Regions from separate parts of the Homo sapiens genome. Here region 2 is linked to region 1. The links are contacts of gene promoters, found by promoter capture Hi-C in human tissues and cell types (Jung and others, 2019). All regions are on one chromosome and are shown on one strand. Each heading gives the region's core, a stretch centred on a gene start or on the middle of the fragment in contact. The rest is flanking DNA. Distances are from core to core; before and after follow the strand shown.

Region 1 (5,392 bases), core at 2,570-5,069:
ATAAACTACAGGCCCTGTTAACTGATTTTAAGTCAATCTAAGCTGAGCTTCCAGGGGGTTCGATCTCAACCCAACTGAGCTTTTCACTGTTAATCCCATCTTTTGGTTTCGATTTTTCCCTTAGGTCTGCCGGCCCTAAAAGCCTTCAACCTTCAGCACTGGTGTTCCAAACCAACTGTGTGGTGGTACACAGCCCTGTGTGGATGACTTCACTGAACTAAAATATGTAAGCTTCTGGCAAGCACATATAATAACGAGATTCTGAAAAAGGGTTTTTAACAACAGTTATGTCACGAGGCTCATGGCTCCCTGAAGTCCCTGAAAGCCTTGTTAAATTAAAGATTCGCTGTGGTTTTTTTTCCGCTTCATTCCTACTTCCCTTGTCGCTTCCTGCCTTTCTTTTTTCTCTTTCATTGTGTTGTTAAGATGGAACTGAGTGACACCAGCTATCATTAATATCACCTAGAAAATGGAAGAGTTTCATTAAAACTGCTAACATTCCCAGCAGTTTTATGGACAGGGGAAGGTCGTCTTTCAGATTATAAAGTCACACACCTGATTTTGTAAGCTCAGGCAATAAAGGTACACAGTGCATCCACACTTGGATTCCCAAGAGGGAGGAATTCAACAGTAGCCTCAAGTCTACCTAGGTAATGTCTCATGAGGTCACTGCAATGTCATGAGAATTCAGACCACAATTTCTGTGGACTTCAAACACTGACTGGGTAGAAGCTAAACCTGCTACCCTTTGGAAAGTATCTCCCAAATCAGAAAGCTTCCCATTTCACCCAATGCCAAGAACTCCACTCCACCCTCCTGGAGGTTGAAAATGCTAATCATAAGGTGATGATGTTTGCTTTTCCTTTCTAGTTGTGTGCCTTTATGTTTTAAGTATTTAAAAGGCATAATCACCTAGTGTGTAGGTTAATTTCTTTCCGATATTGTAATTTATGCAACATTAATACTGGATGCCAGCTCCAATTTTCTTACTGCTTACACTCTGGGAGCCGGCTTGCATATTCTGCCAACTCCATTACATCATCTGAAAACCCAAACATTTCCCATTTTCAAATCACTCTCAACTACCAGGCATACTTACACATTCTCTCTTTTTCTCCCTAGCTCACACACATAAAGATTGGTACCCCTGAGGAGCAGATGCTACATCTGAGGTTAAAGTCTGCAAATGCACATAATTTCTGGAAGCTATTACTACTGCTGTGTTAGCTAAAGGATGCCTCCATCTCTGACCTTCCTTTTTCCATTCAGACTGTTATATAACCTAGTGCCTGCGTGCAGGATGTGAGTTGAGTGTTTGGGCCTTACCACCCCCCTCCCATTAAATCTTCCAGGAGGGACAGACAGGGGCTGGTTCAAAGAATGAGTTGGGGTGGGGGCAGAGGGTGGGGGGAAGGGGATATGGGTCAGCAGGTCAGCTGTGCAAGATGTATCCCACTCCTACTATGCCCCTCTCCCCTTTTTGCTGAGCCTAAGGGGGCTGGTGGCACTGAATGCTCCGGCGTTACATAATTTGCAAGAACAGCAAGTTACGGATTTGCTAGTCGGCTCTGCAGCCTGCCACCCTGATCGCTTGCAAGAACACCTTCTGGCAAGAATGACACCTGAAGATGTTAATAACACAGGGTGTGGGGGGGTCAAGAAGGAGAAAGGTGGCAGCACAAACCAAAAATTAGTGCAGCTTCCTAAATACTATGTCCCCCCCATTCCAAAAAAAAAAAAAAAGCCCCAGAAACACATGAAGGGGATTTTCTCCAGTGTTTCTGATTAACCCTGTTACATAACCCGCTCGCATTCCAAATCCACCGTCTCAGGGTCTAAATATACTCTTTGCAGCCAAAAGCTCCCCGCACACAAACTCACCGAGCTAGCGGCAGGTCCAGGCCCCCAGCCCTCATCCCCTTCCCTTTTGTCCCAGCCCTCGCCGCCCCCCTCCCGCTGAAACCGCGGTTCGCCGCGGTCACCCTTTGGAAATCGCCTTTAATTAAATGTTTTTCGCGTGTGTCATCCTGATGGCTTTTACTGTACTCGAATTCCGTGAATGGGAAAGCGCCTGGACAGGGGGTGTGGCTAAGGTGGGGGGGGGGATACTGTAAAACAGCCAGCACATGATCAGCCATATTCCTACCTCCAACTACAACATCGAGAGGAAGGGAGCAGTTCCTGGGGCCCCCATTCGCCTCTACCCAGCCCTCCCCAACCGCCGCCAGAAGCCGAGTGCAAGAGGAGGGGGCGCGCTGGGCCGGTACCCAAGCCGGGGCTGGAGAAATCCTCTCCGTCCCCAGCTCCAGGCGGCTCGCGCGAGCACGCTTCCTCCGGAGTGACAGGCGCGATTTATACATTATTTACAACAGTAATTAAAGCTGTAGCTTCCTCCTGTTCTTTGCAAACTCCAGGCGCATTCAAATAAATAATCCCCCACTCTCGAGAAAAACACACATCAGGTTCCAATACCTTCAAGAAAGAGTGAGCTTTCCTCAACAGCTCACTTTAGGAAAGGAGGGAGCAACTGAGTCCCCCCCATCCCCCCCAACACACGCAGACACAGACCAAACACCAAAATGAAGAGTAAAAATCGCCAGGGGAGGAGAAAACATTGCTTGCACTATCCAACCAGCATACAACTTGCACTGACCATCCCCAGGTTCCTGCAGAAATGCTTGGAACCTCCGAGAGGGAAGGATTCCCAGAGCAGAAATAAGTTTCGGTGCTTGCTTTTGTAGACGCTCCCTCCGGATGCGCGTGGAGCGCCCCACAGGACCGCCGCCCTCTGCGCGTTGGCGCGCACACGCCCCCCGCCAGCCTGGGCGCCGGGCTCCGAACCCCCGGTCTGCAAACTTGCGCATCTCCCCTCGCCGCGCCCGCCAGACAACTTGGCGAACAGCTCGCCCGCCCGCACCCCGCTTCCTTCGGCCCTTCCTTCAAATCCCAAACGCACCGCCGTGCTCCAAAGAAGGTGTCCACGTCGCCCCCAGACCCCGGAGCGCCCCCTCTCCACCCCCGGGACTTCCCAGGTCGCTCACTCCTCCCGCCCCCCGCCCAGATCTGAGAGGGACCGAAAACACACCCCCGACTCGGGCAGCCAGGGCCGAAACTGTCAAGAGGAGAAAAGGTAAAGCGGAAGGAGGGTGGCCATAAACAGATTTTTTTGCCCCTTCTTAAAAGGACACTGCCGCTTTAAAAGTTTCTTTCCCGGGCCCCCACTCCCCGCATCTCCGTATTTTGGGGGAGCGTATTTAATTGAGGCAACGCAGCTTTCCTCCAGTGTTTGCAGAAAAATCAAAGCCAGGGGGGTGAGCCCGCCGGCTGTCAACCTTCCCGCCGCCTCCCCCGCCCCACTCTGCTCCCGCAAGCCGAGAACGGGCTGCAAAAGTTTGCAACATTTCTGGGGGGCGGAGGGGGGAGGGGAGGGGGGTCCTCCGGGCTCGGGGCGCCGCCGCAGGCTCGCGCGCGGCCGCCGGACCCCGCGCCCCGGGCGCCCGCTCCCGGCCGCCCCCCGCTCCGCGCCCGGGCTCCCGCCGCCCCCTCCCCAGCCCCTCTCCAGCCTCCTACCTCTGCTGGTGCTGGAATAGCTCTGTCTGCGCACCGGGGCAGGCGGCTCGCTCTTGCGGGCGGATTCCTGGTTCAGCGGGGTCTCCCTGGAGCCGGCGGCCGCGTCCGCGCCGCTGCTGCCTGGCTCGCTGGCGGCGGGGTCGGGGGCTGCCGGAGCTGACTCCATGTTTTTTCCCAATGTAGAGATCGCTGGAGATGGCGAGCTCCGAGACTCCCTCTATCTTCTGTTTTCAGAGCAACTCTATGGTACCAAAAAAAAAAAAAAAAAAAAAAAAAAAAAAAAAAAAAAAAAAAGAAGGAGAAGGCGACCGGCGAAAGCAGGAGGGAAAAAGCAGGCGGCGGCGGGCGGGCAAGCAAAAGCGCGAGGGAGCGCGCGGAGTGTCTGGGTGGACGTGTGTGTGCGCCCGAAAGGGGACAAGAGGCGGGTCTGGCCACAGGCAGCGCTAGCGAGAGCTTCTCCAGCCGGCCCCCACACCCACATTCCCCACCCTCCAGACCCCAGACCGAGAGCCACAGACTGGCTGCCAATTTTGGGAGGTGGGGAAAAGAGGGGAGGAGGAGAACAGAGCCTCCCGCGCCCCAATCCTCCCCTCTCCCCAGCCCAGGGACAGAAATTAAAATCGGTGAGATGATTCCGTGCCTACTTCTGAGACTCTCTCGGGAACAGAACTCGTCCCCATCCGCTGCCAGCTTGGGTAGAGACAAATCCGATTGTCCACGTCCACGTTGGGAAATCGCAGGTAGCCCCCTGCCAGCCCTGCCGAGGGCTGAGGAGAAACTAAAAAGGAATTAGAACGGGGCTGACATCCCAAGGAAGGCGGAGGATGGGAGGACGTGGCACTTTTTACTTTGGGATGGGACGGCCAGTGGGTTTCCAATCTTGGTTAAAGACATCTGTGTCTAAAACAGATTTTGTGAATCTAGAAGCGCCATGGACAGTTTCTGGCATGGTTGAAAGAGGTCGCTTTCAGCTCCTTTGCTGTTTGTCCGCGAAGGATCCAGAAACCATTTGGCAGGGCATTTTCTACTGAAGAAAACTTTGGCCTGTTTGGTCGACAACTATCTAAGCTGGATAAAACATGCCACGCTGCATCTAGCTCAAGCGTGGCTGCTAATTGTCAATTCCCACTGGTACTTTTCCTATTAAATGTACAGTCTCATCCATAAAAGGTAGATATACTGGAGAGGCATTACTAATGCCCGGATAACATTCAGATAATTAACAGCTCCTAATAATTCGTATTATTATAGGCATCATTCTACACCCTCCTCCCATTGAAATACATTCATCCCCTAGTAGGTACCTAAAACTCCAGGAAAGCAGATAATTGCATCATCGTTACCTTGACTGCAAACTCCAAGATGAAGGAACAATACAAATTGAAAGAATGGAAAATACTCCAATGGTAGTAGCCTGATTTGTCTGCCTTCATACTCAATCTACCACTTTCTTTTGCCTGCGAAGACACTGTGGAAATACGCCCCACCTTCCTTTCAAAAGGATCCAAAATTTTGACAATAAATAATATTATTAGAGGCCAGAAGGTGGCATAAATATATGTGCTTCAGAACGTGGGGTAGGCGGAGGGAATTGGGGGACATTTTTCTTTTGCTAACTTCCTGGTTTGGAAAAATGCTTTAAAAAATAGTAAGTGCGGGAAACCCAGTTAGCTAATCCTTCAGAGGAACCGCCATATGCCAAATTTCACACATAGTTTCTGTTACTGTTACTGATCTTGATCTTATTTCAAATACACAATGCCCTTTGCCATAGTCTGTGTACTAATCAGCAAAACCTGTGGTCCACTCTTCGGGGTGATGT
Region 2 (5,483 bases), core at 2,638-5,137, 430 kb after region 1:
TTAATCCTGCCAGGGAATTCAGGGCAGAATTTACAGAGAAGGTGAGCTCTGAGCTGTCTCTTGAAGGTGGAAAAGATGAAAATTTTATTTAGGTTAAAATATTCACTAAGGAATTAAAGGCCACTGAAGGAATGTTTAAGATGGAAGGGAGCTGTGGGGTCATGGAAGAACTAGAAAATTGAGGTCAAGGTTTAAAACCACCAGTCTGTCATTACAACAATGATAGCTGAATGCCAAGAAAATGGTTTCTTGAATTATCAGCTGAGGCAGCCAGCAGCCACCCTTTCCACCCGCTGCAGGGTGCTGTACTCACCTCGCCGTGACTGAGAGTAATACTGAATGTTTATACAGCACCGAGCACCCTTCAAAGGGCAGGCATTTGTATCATTTGCTCCTTAAGAGGCCATGCCCTCCATCAATATCAAAAGTATTTGCAAAGGACATATATTTATCCCAGAACCAATCATCCCATTTGTGAAACAAATCCAAGTTTATTAGGACTGATGTTGCAAACAATTTTCTAATTATGTAAATGAATAAAATCTGTTTAATTAATCTCTAGGCTTTACTTGCATTATAAGAATAAAATCTGTCTTTATCTTATTATGGGCTTGCTATTTTCAACAACTACCAAGAAGGGAACATTGAAAATTGTTAGATATGGCAGAACTAATTCATCTAACAAGGTCAATGTCCAGTGGCAATTCTAGAAATTCCATGGAATGTAACAAAACTCCCAACTCATGATATAAAATAGACTTATACGGAGGGGGAGTCCATTTCAATTCAACTAACTGTAGTCAGTATGCCCTGCTTTAGCATAAGCCTCCTGCCTGCCTGCACAACACTCTAGTTCTTTATTTTATGTGTGTGTGTGTGTGTGTGTGTGTGTGTGTGTGGTGTTGTGTGTGGAGAGAGAGAGAACCAAATACTTCCCATGTTGTATATACACCTTGCTATTTAATATTCCTTTGCTGTTCATTCCTTCTTGTACCTCAGTCCTGTAATCATTTTTTTCTTTTAAGAGTACATTTTTAGCAATTCCTTGAATGACGGTCTGTTGGTAGTAAAAATCTGTATTTTTTAGTTTTGCTTTGTTTGCCTAATGTTTAAATTATTATTATTTTGCCCTCATTCACTCAGTTAATCATTTTAGGTTGAGAGTTACTTTCTTTCAAAGGCATTGGTGATATCATCATACTCTACCAGCTTGCAACATTACTGTTGAGAAGACTTCCTTGGTCTGACCATCCTATGTAGGCAATCTCTATTTTCACCTGGGCAGTTTCTAGGTTCCTTGGCCTGTAGTTTTGCTGTGATGCATTTTGGTGTAGATTTCTTTTATTTATCCTGCATGGAGTTTATTAGATATCCTGAATCAAAGGATCTGAGTCTTTCTTAGAAGTTGTTTATTCTCTATATCTTTTAGAGTTCTGCTTAGACCTCACCCTTGCCTCATTTGTCTTTTAACGTCTCTGTCATTTTCATGTCTTTTCCATTCTGTGCTGAATTTTGTGTATTTCTCTCAGTTTCAGTTCACTAATTTTCTCTTTGGCTGTGTCTATTCTGGTCTTGGGGGTCAAAGGAACTGGAAGATAGGGCCATTTAAGTTTTTATGCTTTTGTATTGAGATACAACTCACATAATGTACAAGTACAAATCTTTAAAGGGACAGCCTGATGACACTACAGGTGTACACACTCATGTAGCCACCATCTGTATCAAGATGTAGAACATCTCCAGCACCCCAGAGGCCCTCCCTCTAGCCACTTCTCAAACAGCACCCTACCACATGAGGTCACCTCTATTCTGACCACAATCAACCTAGATTAGCTTTGCTTGTTTTTGAACTTTCTATACATGGACTCATATAGTACATATGCTCTGTATCTGGCTTGTTTGGCTTCATATTTTGACTATGATGTTTATCCATGGTGTTGCATTAGCAATATTTTTCTCTTTTCATTGTGTTGTAACGTTCCATTATATGAATATATCACAATTTACTCCTTCTGCTATTGATGAATTTTTGCTTTTTTTTAGTTTAGGGCTATTATTTCACTGAATTTTTTATTTCAATTACTTTTTTATTTCTAGACATTCTATTTAGTACTTCTTCAGGTATGACAGGTCATTTTTGATAGCCTTTCACTCCTTATTCATATTTTTGCTTTCCTATTTTATTTCTTTAAATGTATTAAACATGTTAAACACTCAAGGTAATTATTTGCTGTTACTGGCTGTCTCTGTTGACTCTCACTCATGATGCTTTATTTTCTTGTATGTTTTGCCATTTCTGAGCTCATGCTCACTGGAACTCAGCCTATGAAAATTCTTTATGAATGAATCGAATCTGAGTTCCTTTAGAAATTTGTGTTCACTCCTGCTGAGTCTGCTTTAAATTTGAATTCTTCGCTTGTGGTTATTTAGACCATGCAAACACTGTGAATTCAGGCCTTGAACCTATGTTAAAGCTGGTATATTGCCACATTCTCCACCCTTCAATAGCCAGTTTAAATCAGTCAAGGTTCTTTGCCATCTGACTCTTTGGCATATACATTTTTTTCCAGTTCACTCTTTCCCTGAGAATGTTGTCCTTCATCGGTCCCAGCTTTACCACAGGATTACACCACTGGCTTCTCTCCCGAGTGAGGTCTTTTTATCTGCCTCCCTTACACATAGGCACAGCTACTGAAGCCAGAGCTCTTGATTAACCTGGAATTTATTGGTACTCAGCAACTTTGACCATCACTTACCTCTCCGGACTCCTACTCCCCTTACATTCTCAACCATGGGGAGTTTCTCTTGCTTTCTGGTATGCTTAACTTTTATTTTAAAATTATCATATATCAACATTTTGTTAAGTATATTTAGATAGTCTAGCTGTTTTGTCAAGCATATTTAGGTAGTTAAAAAACTAGTTCACTGTCTCTCCAGACCTAGTAGTCCGCTCAAGCTTTCTAATCTTCAGTTTTCACCAAGTCAAACAGAATGTCCTTTAATGTTTATCTTTCAAAATACCCCTTAAACATCTCCTCTCTGTTCTCCTGCCTCCCCACTCTACAATGTATTCCTCTCTTCTGGGTACTTCTTGGTATCTTTATCAAAGTTGTTATTTCATCCCACAGGCCTGCCTCTGTCACTGAATTCTACCAGATTTGAAGCTTCCACAGGTCAGGGCTGTGTATATGCCTGGCTCAGAACCAGCTACAGAACCTAGCCCAGAAGGAACTATACTAATGCTTATTGGAATGAACTCAGCTGATGGTTTAACAACAACAACAACATGTCCCTAGGGCACTGAATCCTGAAATCCTCAAACTCTCCTTAAAGGTATCTATGGAAACTGTAAGCAAACTGCATATGCAAAAGGGGCCTTTCCACGCAAGGTCTGTGGCATCAAAACTGCAATCAAAATCCAGAATTTGATGACACACAGCAGTAGCAGCAGTAAACACTGCTGAGCCTGGATGGATGCCATCATCTCATTCCCATGGAATCCGATCATTACATTTTTGTTTTCAGCCCCAAGTTTCAGGGTATGAAAGTATTATCATACTATTTCTTAAGATATTTACAAAGAGCTAAGGAATTTTTCCTGTTCTGGTGGATTTTATTATAATACCGACATTTATATTGAAATCACAGGAGGACAAGAAGTACTTTTGAAAAATTATTTTCACCAGACTCTTTATTGTGTTTCCCAGAATGGCCAGCATTGAGTAATGGGTTGTATCGTTATGTGTGTGTGGCTGGATACCAGATACTAAGGTCCTCAAAAACCCTACAGCATTTTCTTTCTTCATGAAATAAAATGGGACATAACATACGGTTGAGCAAAAAATAAACTACAGAAACCATTAATATGGTAACTAAATTGAATGTAAGCCTGAAATTTATTACCCAAGTGAGTTTGTAGGGTGATACCACCACAATCTTATTTCAAGGGTAAGCAAGATCAACTTAGGTGGTCCTTTAGAATGATAGTGATTGGAGAGGGTTGCAGATGACTTTATTGAGATATCTTAAGTGCTGCATAAATTCTAATGGATATATCAGCTTTTTCTTCAGGCCATGCCAGCCTGTGTGCACAAAAAATAATAATAATAAGGTAAAGATAATAGTACAATCAGTCATTCCACAGCTCAGCCCTCACTAGCTACTAGAATGCTGTCTCTGGTGAGTCCTCCTTTAGATTGAAGGGCTGGACATGGAGGGTGGGAAGGGGACAACTTAAGAGTGTATGGTCCCTGATGTGTCATGCCACCTTCTGGTACCATCTGATACCACGGTCACACCAAAGAGGTGTCTAACTGCTCCCAAGTAAAAGCTGAGTACCCAGTGCAACTTAACAAAAGATGCTTTCCTCCAGCATCCTTCCAAACCTGTGACTATGCAGCCGCTCTGCAGAGCCACTGTGGCTAACTTTTTAAAGCCTAGGTGGTAGATTATTCCTGCATTGCATCCAAGTTTTTCATGTGCCTGCATTACTCCCTTCAGCAGCCTCCTCCCACACTGACTCTCAGAGTGGTCATGTGACTTGCTTTGGCCATGGAGACAACAGCAGACTTTCAAAATGTGGAAACGTTAAAAGTACTTGCACACTGGGGTTTGTTCTCTCTCTTCTAGTTCTTGGAACTGTTCTCCCACCACAAGAATAAACCCAGATTAGCACCCTAGAAAAATGAAAGACCAAATGAATCATCCCCACTGAATATCCTATCAGACCAACAAGCCCCAGCAGATCTGGCAGCTGACTTTATACATAACCCAGCCAGGATCAAAAGAAGAATCACAAAGCTGAGCCCAGCCTGGTCTGCCAATTTACAGAATCATGAGCTAAATAAATGGTTGAGGGTTTAAGTCACGGGATATCAGGGTAGACTGTGAAAGCTAACTTATATAGCCTTTTACAAAGATGTAAAAAAATAAAATACGTTCATGGAATGGCTGGTAAAAGAGTTAAGAGTATGCAAAAAGCAAAACCCTAGACCTTATACAAGAGACTACAGACCCTTCAAGAGGCATAAGACCCAATAATTGGGTTATCATCTCGTTGGTGTAATTTCAAGAGGTTGTTATAAAGCCCATTTGTTCCAAATATCTCTCTCTCCAGTGAACCTCCTGTCTACATCAAAACTTGCTGAAATTCCCACGCAGTGTCCTGTAAAGGGGACAGGGCCACATAATAGTTAAGAGCTCTGGAATCAGACACTAAAATCAATACTGTATTCCTCCTCAGTTTCATCCTTTGCAAATCAGGGAGATAATAGCAGCTGCTTCATAGAGCTGTTGTTGTAAAGAGTAATAATGCCTATGTAGTGTTTGGTGCCATGCCCGACACGTATCAGTGCTCAAAAAATAAGCTTGTCTTATTAGATTGAGAGTTAATCCAAATAATTAGCAACCATTTATTACTTATCATAGGATAGGTATTACCCTTAATGCCTCTATGTATACTACGCCATTGAATCCTCATAATA

The links. Contacts are between HindIII fragments. The study calls those that stand out against the background at their distance.
Region 2: a contact is called between a fragment that was not itself captured here and the fragment with the promoter of RORA in region 1, in 1 of the 25 tissues and cell types used here (stomach).

What each region holds. Positions count from the first base shown.
Region 1 is chr15:61,225,483-61,230,874 of GRCh38, forward strand. RORA (RAR related orphan receptor A) reads right to left here and starts at 3,820. Exons shown (of 11, transcript NM_134261.3): 1 at 3,571-3,820. The coding sequence starts at 3,736. The HindIII fragment of the contact is 14,135 bases long and covers 504-5,392 here.
Region 2 is chr15:61,657,353-61,662,835 of GRCh38, forward strand. The region is part of intron 1 of LOC107984782 (a long non-coding RNA gene); the gene reads right to left. Among named protein-coding and RNA genes, the nearest start is that of LINC02349, 70 kb to the right of the region's middle. The HindIII fragment of the contact is 5,187 bases long and covers 1,295-5,483 here.